3 separate regions of the Homo sapiens genome follow, and regions 1 and 2 are each linked to region 3. The links are contacts of gene promoters, found by promoter capture Hi-C in blood cells and fetal thymus (Javierre and others, 2016). All regions are on one chromosome and are shown on one strand. The core of a region is centred on a gene start or on the middle of the fragment in contact, and the rest is flanking DNA. Distances in the headings are between cores, read along the strand shown.

The links. The method cuts DNA at HindIII sites, captures the fragments that hold promoters and counts their contacts. A CHiCAGO score of 5 or more calls a contact.
Region 1: a contact is called between a fragment that was not itself captured here and the fragment with the promoter of TRIB1 in region 3, in 1 of 17 cell types (M1 macrophages). The highest score is 5.6, in M1 macrophages.
Region 2: a contact is called between a fragment that was not itself captured here and the fragment with the promoter of TRIB1 in region 3, in 5 of 17 cell types (neutrophils, fetal thymus, monocytes and 2 more). The highest score is 10.6, in neutrophils.

The regions. Positions count from the first base shown.
Region 1 is chr8:125,698,716-125,703,193 of GRCh38, forward strand. No RefSeq gene overlaps it. Among named protein-coding and RNA genes, the nearest start is that of LINC02964, 180 kb to the left of the region's middle. RefSeq lists an enhancer at 392-541. The HindIII fragment of the contact is 3,029 bases long and covers 1,179-4,207 here.
Region 2 is chr8:125,094,706-125,099,632 of GRCh38, forward strand. The region is part of intron 1 of NSMCE2 (NSE2 SUMO ligase component of SMC5/6 complex); the gene reads left to right. Among named protein-coding and RNA genes, the nearest start is that of NSMCE2, 5.3 kb to the left of the region's middle. The HindIII fragment of the contact is 1,364 bases long and covers 1,801-3,164 here.
Region 3 is chr8:125,428,766-125,433,443 of GRCh38, forward strand. It overlaps TRIB1 (tribbles pseudokinase 1), which reads left to right and starts at 1,593. Exons shown (of 3, transcript NM_025195.4): 1 at 1,593-2,497; 2 at 4,552-4,678. The coding sequence starts at 2,138. RefSeq lists silencers at 766-1,385, 2,116-2,455 and enhancers at 1,746-1,795, 3,266-3,355. The HindIII fragment of the contact is 12,242 bases long and covers 1-4,678 here.

The DNA.
Region 1 (4,478 bases), core at 1,443-3,942, 270 kb after region 3:
AGGCAAGGAGGTAGCGGGCCTGCCTTTTGTGTTGTCTCCGAAAATGGAATCAATGCTGCTCTCCTCTCTTTTCCTTGCCCCACATCTCTCTCTTCCTGCTTTGAGCACTTTGATATAGTCTCACTTTCTATCTATAAAGCCTGTCTGTGTCCTTACTCACTGCAATGACCTGAAATGCAGAAGCTGCTTCTGTGAAAAAAACCACTGGGGAGCCCACAGCAGTTCCACGTCATCCTCTGAGTCACCCTGCAAGTGAAACCTGGGAAGGCTCATGGGGTTCACCTGGGCTGGCCACTCCCTCCGGGGCTACTCTGTGGTCTGTGGCACTGTGGCATCTGCTCTGGGTTTCCAACCAACATTTTCTTGCCTCTGCGCTCTGTGCTCTGGCTGGGATGTTTTCTCCTCTCTTCTCTTTCTGGATAACTCCCATTTTTCCATTAAGACCAAGCTTAAATGTCTTTCCATCTTTATTTTTTTTTTTTGACACAGAGTTTCACTCTTGTTGCCCAGTCTGGAGTGCAATGGCATGATCTTGGCTCACTGCAACCTCTGCTTCCTGGGTTCAAGCAATTCTCCTGCCTCAGCCTCCTGAGTAGCTGGGATTACAGGCACATGGGCACATGCCACCACACCTGGATAATTTTTGTATTTTTTAGTAGAGATGGTTGGTTTAGTAGACATGGTTCACCATGTTGGTCAGGCTGGTCTCGAACTCCTGACCTCCTGACCTCAGGTGATCCACCTGCTTAGCCTCCCAAAATGCTGAGATTACAGGCGTTAGCCACCGTGTCTGGTCAAGACCAAGCTTAAATGCTCCTCTAAGAAATCTTTCCTGATTTTCTGCTTGGTTCCTTACCAGAATGCCAGTGTCTTTCCACTGTCACATTTCCATAGCACCTGAAATGTGTTCTTTAGTGCATGGATGCCATGGTGTTGCCATTATGTGTCTCCCACCAGACTGTAAGCCACTTGAGAGCAGGACCGTATCTCAGCTCTCACGCAGCCTGAGCATCTGGCACATAGTAGGTGCTTTGGGAATATATTTTCCATGAATTATTCATGATATGGCTTGACTTCTGTCATGGATCCTACTCTGCACATAGGTTTCATGCCCACTGGGTTGCTGGTCCTTGGATTCCAGCTGAGGGAAGATTCTGTTCTGTAATAACCTTAAAGGAAGCTTGCACAGTCTCTCCTATAATGTTGTTTTCACTGGGAGTTGATGTTGTCCATCCCATTCTATTGAATAATATCCCTTGTTAGAAAGGGCATTTTGGCATGCCATTAGTAATGATAGCAAACCATATTTATGTGGGTTAGAATTAGGTCCAGTTGTGAGTGATAGAAAACTCAAAATGACAGTGGCTTAAATAGCTATTTATTTATCTCTCATGTAAATATCCACAGTTAATCTAATCCTGCCATGAAGGTTCTGCTCCACAAAGTTCTCAGGGACCTGCACCATTAGACCTTCTACTCCACTCTGCCCAGGGCTTAGCCACTGTACTCATGACCCAAGATAGAGCTTCAGGAGTGACATTCACTTTCCAAACACAGATGGAGGAAGGTGGGAAGAAGGGGGCCCAATGAGTGGGCCAGCTGTCTGTCAAAAAGTTTCCCAGAAGCAAAGGGAATCTTCCACATGATACTCTGTTTACATCCCATTGGCAGAACTTAAGTCATATGACCACTCCTGATCTGCAAGAAAGTCTGGGAAATGTAGTCTTTATTCTGAACAGCCATGTTTCTAGCTGTGGAGGAAGGGGAATATGAAATTGAAGAATAATAGCAGTCTTTGCTACAATATTTGCTTAGCACTTTACAAGTCCTTTTTTATATTCGTTATCTGGGCTGATACTCATATGGAAGACAGGGTTAGTAGCTTGTTTAAGGACACACAGGGTAAAAGCAGAGTCAGAAGAACAGAGAGGTGTTTTGATGCTGCACCCTCACTGCTATACTGTGCTACTTCTCACACTGAGCTGAAATTGGTTTCTTTCCAACTACCCATCGGTCCCAGTTGTGTCAGCTTGAGAGAAATGAAAGGAGTACAGTCTTTCTGCTGGGTAGTAAGTGACTCAGACACAAGGCCGTGGTGCATGCTGAATATCCTGCCCTCCACTGCCCCCAGCAGGTTGCCTGGATCGCAAGACTACTCAATAAATAGTGAAATTGAAAAATCATTGTGGAATCTCAATTCTTTTTGTCTAATAATGATAGCAGTGTATATTCCTATAGCATGTTACAGTAAGTGTTTACATCTCTGGTTTCCATTAGCTTCAGGGTTTATGGAGAAACTTATGGTTCATAAAGCCATACTGTTGAAGGTCTTTCCTTGGCAAACGCAAAGGGAATACTGAATGCAGCACTTTCCCGTGTGATTCCCCTTTAATCATCACTGAACATTTCAGAGTGTCTCAGTGCATTTAGTGTTACTACCAAGACATACCTGAGGCTGGGTAACATATAAAGAAAAGAGGTTTATGTAGCTCATGATTCTGCTGGCTGGAAGGTTCAAGATTGGGCATCTTGTGAGGGCCTCAGGCTGCTTCCCCTTATGGTGGGAGGTGAATAGGAGTCTGTGTATGCAGAGATCACATGGTGACAGAGGAAGTGATGGGGGGAAGGGAGGTGCCCGGCTCTTTTTAACAACTAGCCACTGCAGGAATGAGAACTCACTCATCCTCGAGGGAGGGCATTAATCTATTCATGAGGCATCTGCTCTCATGACCCAAACACCTCTCCTTAGGCCACATCTTCAACATTGGGGATCAAATTTTAGCATGAGGTTTGGTGGGACAGACATCCAAACTATAGTATAGAGCTTGGGATTATTATCCTCATTTTAGAGATGAGACATCTGAAATTTATTATTTATTTATTATTATTGTTATTTTTTAAGACAGAGTCTCACTCTGTCACCCAGGCTGGAGTGCAGTGGCATGATCTTAGCTCACTGCAGCGTCCACCTCCTGGGTTCAAGTGATTCTCCTGCCTCAGCCTCCCGAGTAGCTGGGATTACAGGCACATGCCACCACACCCAGTTAATTTTTGTATTTTTAGTAGAGACAGAGTTTCGTCATGTTGGCCAGGCTGGTCTTGAACTCCTGACCTTAGATAATCCACCTGCCTTGGCCTCCCAAAGTGCTAGGATTAGAAGTGTGAGTCACCGTGCCCAGTCAAAAACTGAAGTTTAAAGAGGCTTAATAACTTTCTCTAAAGGGTGGAGTGCCCAACCCTACCTGCCTGACTCTGAATGGCTCTGGTCTTGGGATTCCTCTGTTCTTAATCACTCCTTCGACATCAATGAATTATCAATGATGCGTACAAAACGCTGTTTGGGAGACACCAAGAAGGATTAGCAATGTGATGCCTACTATTTTTGGAGTTGCAGGAAAAGCTAATGGCAGGACCAGCCAGTACTAGGGAGTCAGAAGAGGGTGGCTGCCTGTAGCCAGGAGTCGAGTAGTTCCTCTCCCCAGTGAAGAAGGGGGAGGTGTGGAAGGTGCAAAAGTTAATACAGGAAGAATAGAGGAAGGGCCCTGTGAACTTTCAATACCCCTGTACCTTATTTTGCTGAGCTTATTATATAATACCAGAGCAGAATAGAAGGTAGACCCACGGGAATTCAAATCTTGGCTGTGCCACCCACTTCCTGGGCAAGTCACTTCCTCTCTCTGTGTCCATTTCCAAATCTTTGAAATTCAGTTAGAAACATCACTTTAAAAACAGGGTTGTTGTGAAGATTTTATGAGATAATGTATAAAATAAGTTCTTACCAAGTATCAGCTATGATATTTATGATATTTTAGAGTTATTAATTATACTGTGAGGATTAAGGAACTTGGCAGAGGAATACAGTAGGTGCTTAAATGGTATCCTAAAATATTATTTAAAAATAAATGACAGTAATGGGAATACCGCAATTACTTTTGCACCAACGTAATAATAGTAGGATATTTAAAGTTGAGATCACAGGAATCAGTGCAGATATGTCTCATTTTAACCAGCAGGTGGCGCTCATGTCGTGTTTAAATTCTGAAAAACCTTAAAAAGTACATACATATTCATATTTTCTATTTTTACCAGAAAAAGCAAGGAAAAAAATCTCAAAAAAGGCCATTGTCTGTGCCATGGGGAAATAATTAAGGTATGTAAAACAGCTGATACAGTAATTAATAAGAGCAGTGACTGGAGAGTCTCAAAAAGCTTTGCTGCAAAACTGCGGGAGTGTAATTGACCTCACTGACGTAGGAAAAAAATCACAAGCTCACACACAGCAGGGAAAGACTGTGCTTTCACATCAGTAGATTTAGAACCAAACCAGGGGATCCTGGAGCTGCGCTTCTGAGCCACACCTGGGAAGACTTTGAAAAGGTAAGTTCTAGGAAGGCAGGGTCTCCAGTGACTGTCTTTACCCATATTCCCAGGGCCTAAGGCATTAATCGTAGTAGATGCTCAATAAGCATGTGTCAGGT
Region 2 (4,927 bases), core at 1,233-3,732, 330 kb before region 3:
GCCAGAAGTTCAAGGTGAGGTTGCCAGCATAGTTGGATTCTGGTGAGGACTTTCTTCTTGGCTTGTAGATGGCTGCCCTTTTTATGTGTCTTCACATGGTAGGGAGAGAGAGAGAGAGCAGTCCCTGGCGTCTCTTCCTTTTCTTTTCTTTTCTCTTTTTTTTGAGAAAAGAGGGTCTCGCTCTGTTGCCCAGGCTGGAGTGCAGTGGCGTGATCATGGCTTACTGCAACCTCAACCTCCCGGCTCAAGCGATCCTACCACATCTCCTCCTGAGGAGCTGGGGCTGCAGGCCCGCACCACCACATCCAGCTAATTTTTTATTTTCTGTAAAGACAGAGTCTCACTTTATTGCCTGGGCTGGTCTCGAACTCCTGGGCTCAAGCCAACCTCCCACATTGGCCTCCCAAAGTGCTGGGATTATAGGCATGAGCCACCTTTCCAGCCAGGTTTTAGATAATCAGTACACATGTGCCTAGTGCCTATCATATTGGACAGTGCAGATTATAGAACGTTTTCATCACAGAAAGTTCTATTGGACAATGCTGCTCTGGACAATTTAGACTTACACTAGAATCAAGACTGAGTAGAAAACAGAATACTTCTGCTGATCATGGTGTCTCATGCCTATAATCCCAGCACTTGAGAGGCCGAGTTGGGAGGATCACTTGAGCTCAGGAGTTTGAGACCAGCTTGGGCAACACAGGGAGATGGTCGTCTCTACTAAAAATTAAAAAAGAAAAATTGGCCAAGTGGTGGCGCGCGCCTGTGGTCCCAGCTACTTGAGAGGCTAATGTGGGAGAATCACATGAGCCTGGGAGGTTGAGGCTGTAGCGAGCATGATCATGTCACTGCACTCCAGCCTGGGTGACAGAACAAGACCCTGTCTCAAAAACAAAAAGAAAACCGAGGCCAGGGGCAGTGGCTCACGCCTGTAATCCTAGCACTTTGGGAGGCCGAGGCCGGTGGATCACTTGAGGTCAGGAGTTTGAGACCAGCCTGGCAAACATAGTGAAACCCCGTCTCTACTAAAAATACAAAAATTAGCCTGGCATGTAGCTCCCAGCTACTGGGGAGGCTGAGGCAAGAGAATTGCATGAACCTGGGAGGCGTAGGTTGCAGTGAGCCAAGGTAGTGCCACTGCACTCCAGCCTGAGGGACAAGAGCAAAACTCCATCTCAAAAAAAAAAAAAAAAAAAGAAAAGAAAATTGAATACTGGAATTATATCATTTGGTCCTTGCAGGTTTGTGTTTTTTGATTAATACTTAGTACTGTAACAGGTAAACCCCACAAGTCTAAATGGCTTTGCCCAGTTGAAGTTTCTTTCATGCATGGAGCCTGATAGGTGAGTAGTTTTCCTCCAAGCAGTGATGTAGGGCCTTGAGCTCCTTCCATGCAGTAATTCTCTATCATCAGCATATAGCTTTACTAAGGTCCCTATGCTTGCCTGCATCAAGCTATCAAATGGGAAAATGTGGCTTTTTGCAGATTAGGCCTGGAAATGGCTCACATTTCATTGCCTTGGGTACAGTCATAGGCCACAGCTAACTTCAAGGAAGGCTGGAAAATGTGGAGCATATATAGGCATGTAACCGGGTTGAAGAGGAAATGGTTTTGGTGGGCACCTGTCCAGTATCTGTCACAAGTGTTTTGTCCTTACCTGCCCTGAGAAATAGTCTCAAGAAACAGTCCTAGAAGTTTGCTATTGCATTTACTATAAGGATATTTTTGAGGATTATTTTTTTCAGTGTAACCCATTATCTCATATATGATGATCCATACTTGCCTTGATTGCCATGGAAAGCTTTATTTTTTTCTTGAGTTTCTAGTGTTATTTGTTTTTTTTTTTTGGAGAAAATAACTGTCACTTTTTGTTTTGATTGTGAGGAAGCTCACTACCAAATGTGTATTACTAGTACTGTGTGGAATCCTTTTTTTTTTTTTTTTTTTTTCATACGGAGTCTTTTTGTGATCTCAGCTCACTGCAACTGCTGCCTCCAGGATTCAAGCGATTCTTCTGCCTCAGCCTCCCGAGTAGCTGGGACTGCAGGTGTGTACCACCATGCCCAGCTAATTTTTGTATTTTCAGTAGGGATGGGGCTTCACCATGTTGGCTGGGCTGGTCTTGAACTCCTGACCTCGAGTGATCAACTGCCTCGGCCTCCCAAAGTGCTGGGATTACAGGCGGGAGCCACCACACCTGGCCCTCTGTGTAGAATCCTAAAGTGTGCGTGACTCCATTATAACTTTCTCATATGCTTGGTTTGCCCGTAAATTTCTGTTTTTTGATCCTGGTTTTTCTGAATTTATGTTTTTCCATCTTTTTGTGTATGTTTGTATTTATATTGTGTAAAATGTCTCAACTTGTTTGGTATAATACAGTGAGATTGTAAACAAGCAGTCTCTTTCAATGCAAATGTTTGAAGATCATCATTGGCTTTTATTCCTGTTTGTATTTTTTCTTTTTTGATGTGGAACTGTAAAGTCCCAGAAAAGAACACAACAAGAACCCTTGTTTCATCACCCAGATTTTAACATCTTTAACATTTTGCCATATTTGTTTCAGGTCTTGATTTTTAAGGTAAAGTTTTGAAAATACATAGAGCTCAAATTTCCATGATGACCACTAGACCCAACTGGAGTGAATCTTTATCCTGTACTTAAGGCTGTCTACACTATATTCCCAAAGAATGAAATCCAGTTATCTTCCCATTCCTTTGTACCTGTATGCCAGGCAAAGGGAACTCATCTCATCGTTTACTACCTTATGATCTTTTTTCATCTCACTGCTTCCTTCATCTGAACAGCTCTCCCTGATAATTTAGACCTTTCCAAATCCTGAGTACCTTTTATGGTCCAGCTTAAGTGCCTTCATTTCCGTGAAGCCTATGTCTCCCCTGTTGTGCCTATAATCCTTTCCTTTCTTGAACATTGTAGCATAGTGGGTTTGTGTAATCGGTTTCTTTTTTCAACTTCATAGTACTTGGTTCATTCTTTTAATATGGAACTTGTTCTCTGCCAAGCCTGTTTTGAGGGGTTGTGGCAGAAAGGAGTTATGTTTATTCTGGAATATCAAATAGTTAAGGTTATATGAAATGTATGATTTAAGTCTTGGTGAAAAGTAGAATCTCTGATTTGAAAAGCGTGTTTGCATTATATTGTAGAAAGCTTTGGATACTGTGCTAATTATGTTGAATTTTATTATATAGGCAGGAGGGAGTTAGGACCAACCCTTCCTGCTTTTTTCTGTCTTTATTACTGGCATCTCTGTCTTATTAGCAAGCTCAAAGACCTTAAGGTGAAGCATGCCTGGGTTATTAAAGGACTAGCAATGGCCAGATAATGTAGAACAGTGGTCTTCAAAGTGTAATTCTTGGATCAGCAAAATCTACATTACCTGGAAATTTGTTAGAAATGCAGATTCTTAGGTCCCTTCCCAGACATACTGAATTAGAAATTCTGAGGGTGAGGTCCAGCAATCAGTGTTTTAATGGGCCCATCAGATGATTCAATACACTGACACTACATGTCTCCTAGATATATCAGAGTTAGAATTACATAGAGGACTTGTTAAAACGTAGATTGTTGGGGCCTGAGAATTTGCATTTCTAACAAGTTCATAGGTGATGCTGGTGACACTTGGTCAGGAACCATTTGGAGAACCACTATTGTCAGTTATTACGAAGCTCTTTGGCCATTACTCCCGGTGAGTCAGGAAGTCCTTAGGAGTTTTTGAGCAGAGGAGTCACATGATCTTACGTACATTTTCAAAGGTTTACTCTGGCTGCTGTGTTGAGAATAGGGTGGAAGAGGCAAGACTGAGAGCAGGGAGACCAGGTAGGAGACTGTTGGAGTAATTCAGGCAAGAGATGATGGTTTGAATCACGGTGTTATCAGCAGAATTGGTGAGAGTGGTTGGATTCTGGAGATAGTTTGACTACAGAGCTGGCAAAATTGATGTTGAGTTTGGTATAGGATATGAGGGGAGGAGGAGAAGGATCAAGTATGAACCAAGAGTTTTGGTTCAACAAATGGAAGGATGGAGTTGCTATTTAGTAAGATGGGGCAGGTTGTAAAAGGAGTAGGTTTGGGGGAGGGGTAGGGTGGGAGAGAAGGAATGTGGGCCTTCCATGTTGGACGTTTTAAGTTCTGGAGTGATCTTGCCAATGGTATTTAGATGGAATGGGTCTAGTTGGGAACACTAGGTGGATGGGAGAGGATGGAAAAGAGAGATCAGAGCACTGAGCCCTGGGCATACCACCTATACTACAGTTTTGGAGACATGTGCTGTTTTAGGTGCTGGAGATACATAGTATTACATTCATTCCTTCTTTCAGCAAGCCTTTGTTGAATGGCCACTAATGTGCCATGCGTTGTTTTAGGTGCTTGGAATACAGCAGTGAACAAAACAGAAAAAGTCAAAAAGTCTGTAAGTTTAAGGAACTTACAGTGTAATTGGGGACTAGACACTATAAACCTAATAAATACAAGAATGTCGTTTGGCAATACCTGCCTTGAGGAAAGATAAAGCAGAAGCAGAAGGGTGGGAATGCCTGGGGGTGGAGATTGGGAGGGCTTGCCGTTGTATATCAGATGGCCAGGGAAGGCCTTACTGATGAGGTGATACTCAAAGGGAGACCTTAGAGAAGTAAGGGAATTGACCTAGTAGATATCTAGGGGACCAGTATCATGGCAGAGGGAACCAAGAAGGCATAGCCCTGAGGCAGGGCTGTATTTGATTTGGGTATAGAAGGAGAAGAAAAAGAAGCTTGGATTCTGAACCTGGGACCCTACAACATATGGAGCTCAAGGAGATGGAGAGGAAACAGAAAGGAGAATGAGAACAAGAACAAGGTAGGCAGGTGCAGAAAGTGCATCAGGAAGGGAGTGATTAACTGTGTTGCATACTGCTGGCTGATAGGTCAAAGG
Region 3 (4,678 bases), core at 343-2,842:
GCTAAGAACAGTGTCCGACACATTGTAGGCCTCGATTCATGTTAGCTATTATTATTATTTTAATTTTCACCTTCTAATTCCCAGCGTTTAGCTCTTGGTAGATGCTTAATTAGTATTTGTTGAATGAATGGAGAATTAATAAGGAAAATGATTTATTCCTGGGGCTCGACCTGGTTTTAGAAAATTAAGTATTTAGCAGAAGGACAAGTAAGGGCTCTCTAATAATAGTTATATTGTTGGGTGCCCAGGGACTCCAAACTGACCTGGTTCACTCAAGAAAGAAAAATGACAGATTCCAAGTTGTTTCACGCGCAACTTTGATGCTCTTCCAAATCACACGGAATGAATGCATGCGCACCACCAGGCAGGGCTGCCCGGGTGCAGGCGGTATCTCTGGCAGTGGCCAGAATGACTTCCACCAGCCTACCCACCTACCCAGGTTGGCACTCAGGCCCTAGACCCTGCGGCGCGTGTGGAGGCTGGGGAGGGAGTAGGAATCCGGCGGCAGCCACGTGGGCCCCTTCCGCCCGCTCCCCACATCCTTTGTTTCCCACCGGCCCTGGCTCAGGAAGCTCTTTCTGCGAGTCACCGCGAAGGGGCGGCCCGGGAGCCTGGAGAAGCTATTTCCGTGCAATCCGGGCGGGCGGCAGGCGCGGGGGGGTTGGGGGGGCGTGGAGGTGGAGGCAGCGCAGAAGGCCCAGTGTTTGCTTTTATTTCCTCCAACAGAAGGTTCTATTTGTGGAAGCGAACAGACGCTGGGGATTAGAGCTGGGAGGGGGCAGGAAAAGGGAAAAAAAAAAGCCACATCCACTACCACGCACAGGTCTTCCCCGGAACTACCGCGTGGGGGTGAATGACTGATTCTGGAATTCATCACCTCCCTATCCCCCTCCTTCCTCCGGCTGCAGCCGGGCCTCGGCGGCGCCCACGGCTCCAACCGGAGCTCCCCAGGCGCTGGGCGGTGGGGGGATCCCCGGGGCGAAAGGCGTCGCCGCGGGGCTGCAGCGAGCGGCGGGTGCAGAGAACCGTGGTGCGCGCTCCCGCCTCGCGCCCGCAGCCCATTGTGCTTACTGTGAATGAGGCGCGCGCACCAATCAGCGGTCGCTTCGCTCCCCGCAGCCCCGTCCCTCCCGCCCACTTCCCCGGGCCCTTACGTCACGGGAACTTTTCCTCCGCCCCCTCCTTCGGCTTCTCCGCTGAGCTGGGGGCCTGCGGGAGGGCGCGCGCGCCGCCTCCTGCCCAGCCCCTCCCAGCCCTGGGGGCGTGTGCGCGCGTCCAGGCCGGCCCGGGACGCACCACCTGCGCCCGAGCGCGCGCTGCCCGGAGCATCCCCAGCCCTAAGTCCACCCCCATTCCCCCCACCTCCTACTCCCTCTCCCCTTCCCCCAGTCTCCTCCCTCCGCTCCGGAGACTGCTCGCTGGGCGGCGGGGCCGGAGTCGTCGCAGCCACCTCATTGCACAACCCGGCTTCCCAACTGTTTACACAGCCCGGCCTGTGAGTGTGTGTGTATACAGCGTGAGTCACCAGGAGGCGGAGGAGGTGGAGGAAAAGGAGAAGGAGGAGTGCACTGGCCGGGATCGGTGCAGCGCTCACACTCACTCACAGTCACTCTCTCTGAGCGCGTCTCGCTCGCTCTCATACACGCCCGGAGCCCAGGAGCGCTCAGGATCCCGAGCGCCGCGAAAAAGTTCCCCCGGCTTTTGCTGGAGACTCATCGCTTTGGGAAGTGCATTTGCTTCGTGGCTCCGCCGAGCCTGCTGAATCCTGTCCTCGCGGCTCGGGACCCCGGGATCGCTGACCGCTGCCGCCGCCGCCTCTGCCTCCCGGACTATCGGCAGCCTCGGCAACAATAGTGGCGGCCGCCCCCAGCGAGGCTCCGGGAGCCCTTGCCTGCGGGGGTCCGGGGACTCGAGCCGGCCTCCGCCTCCCGGACGCACAGCCAGCGTGGTCCCCGCGTGCAACGCGAGCGCCGGGGAGTGGCTCCTGCTTTGCCCCTCGTGGGGGCCGAGCCAAGACCAGTCTGCAAACTCCATCCCGCCGGCTGGAAGAAGTCGCGGAGCCGGCACCAAACCCGCAGCGTCTTCCCGCGCGGATCCCGGGACTTAAAAAGCCGGGGCCACCCCGGCCCAGGACGGGATGCGGGTCGGTCCGGTGCGCTCTGCCATGAGCGGCGCCTCGCAGCCCCGCGGCCCGGCCCTGCTCTTCCCAGCCACCCGAGGCGTCCCGGCCAAACGCCTGCTGGACGCCGACGACGCGGCGGCTGTGGCGGCCAAGTGCCCGCGCCTCTCCGAGTGCTCCAGCCCCCCGGACTACCTCAGCCCCCCCGGCTCGCCCTGCAGCCCGCAGCCCCCGCCTGCCGCTCCGGGGGCCGGCGGAGGCTCCGGGAGCGCGCCGGGGCCCAGCCGCATCGCCGACTACCTGCTGCTGCCCCTAGCCGAGCGCGAGCATGTGTCCCGGGCGCTGTGCATCCACACTGGACGCGAGCTGCGCTGCAAGGTAGGCGCTCCCGGGCCAGGACCCGGCTGGGGTCGGGGGCGCGGGACGGGGTGGTAGGCAAAGGTGCTTGGGGTCCGGCCAACGCTTGGGCTGGGCACAGGGCGGATCAGTAGATTGGGTCAGATAAGACGCCATTTGACCAGGTTCACGTTTTTGTGGATCGAGGGGTTTCCCATGGAGTGATATAATGGGGGCGCCTAGAGGAAGTGCAGTGTTCAGTGGCTTTCTCTATCTGTTCCTTTCCTCAGCGCCCAGTGTAGCGCGTGGCGTTCCATATAAGTTGTGGAATTGAAATGGATTCCAGGGCCATGCCATTCCCCTTCTCTCATTCTCCTCGCTCTCCACCCCCCCTCCCCCGCCAATGTCCTGGAAGGACGCCCTTTAGTGGGTGCCTCCTAGGAGCTTGGAGCAGCTGGCAGCTCTCTTGCCGGGCTTGCACGGCACCCGGGCTCAGTTGTAGGTGGTAAGGGGGCTGGAAGACTGTGTCCGGCTCCTGCCTTGGGGATTCCGAATTGAATCCGCGCTGAGACTAGAACACGCCCTCCCAAGGGAGCAGTCCCAGAGTCATCCACCCGAGGCGGAGGAATCTGCTCGGAGTAGAAATGTTGAAAAGCCCACACCGGCCAGGAACCCTCGCTTCGATTCACTTTATTTTCCAGCCAGCGATTTTCCTTTGAACATAGGGATCCCATCCAGGAGGAGGAGACACAGCTCCTAGAAACAGGATCCGCCGGGTCCTCCTCCTGCGCGGGTAGACGCAGAACGTTCCCACAGTCTACTTTATGCGAGCGTGGCACCCCTGCTTGAGGCACCCCAGAGCACCCTCGGGCCGCTCCTTTTCACCCGAAAGATAGGATCACCCCCCAGTTAAGTCGCTTCTGGGTTTTCCGCAACTCACCTGACACTCCCAACACCCCGACCCCGTCCCGGGGCTCGCTGCTGCCACCTACTGCCCAACCCGAATGAAATTTCAGACGCATGATCAAGCCCAGTTTAATAGGGAGGAAAAAAAAACCTTTTCTTCTCCATGACTGGGGCTAAGAGCTGTTCTGGGACAAGCATGTATGTGTGTGTGGTGGGATGGGATGGGATGGGGTGGGAGGAGGGGGCAGCAGGGGATTTTTCTAGCTGGTGCCAGAGCAGCCAGGCCTCTTAGAGGTGGGGTGAGTCTGGCCATTGTGCAACCCCTTCCAGTTCCTCTGAGCAGATAATAGCTGAATCCAGATGGTGACAGCCCGTGTGTCACCGTTTCCAGTTGAGTCTAGGATATGAGTAACTGGACTGAACAAAAGGCCTTTAAAGAGACCAGCCAGCTTCCTAGAAGAGAGGAGATGCTACTCATTTCTAGGGGTGGGGTCGGGTGTGGGGGGATAAACAAACAAGTGGAAAACCCATTCGCAGGATTCCATACCCTTCCTGTGAGAATTGTAACTCAAGGCTGCTTACACTTGAGTCGGACTGTAGGCAGGTTGCTTAAGGCTGCATTGTCCCAGCCTCCCCCTCCAAGTCATCTGTTCCTTCTGATTAATGACAGCTCTGCATGTTCTCTGGCCCCTGCTTCCCCTTGGAGGCTGCAGAGTCACCACATTCTGTGCCCTTTCTGTGTTGAGCACTTTGGGTCTGCAGGAGGCACATGCACGTCCAGGGACTGCTTTTCAGCTCCTGGACAGGCCAGGGGCTTCCTTCTATCAGCCACTCAACTAGTGTGGCCTGCAAACAGGAAAGGGCCACAGAGGGTGGGGGGTTTGCTTAGCTCTCAGGAGCTGACAGAAGATGGGAACATGTACAGGAGACAGTTCTTTCAAATCATCTGTGTGAAAGCGGGTAACCCTTTGGGTATTTGCAAGTCTAGAGCTTTAGGTGTTACTGGTTTTAAAGGTGTCAGGGGCAGCTGGGGCTGCGTAAGGTAAGGTGGCAGAGGAAAGGAGTAGGTGAATGGAACTTACTCACATCCTAAGCCCACAGGTTGAGAACTTCTGTTCAGCTCCCTCAGGGGTTTGGGAGGCTGCCTTTGCTTTTCTAGCCCCCTAAACGGGCCCCCCTTCTCTCTACAGGTGTTTCCCATTAAACACTACCAGGACAAAATCAGGCCTTACATCCAGCTGCCATCGCACAGCAACATTACTGGCATTGTGGAAGTGATCCTTGGGGAAACCAAGGCCTATGTCTTCTTTGAGAAGG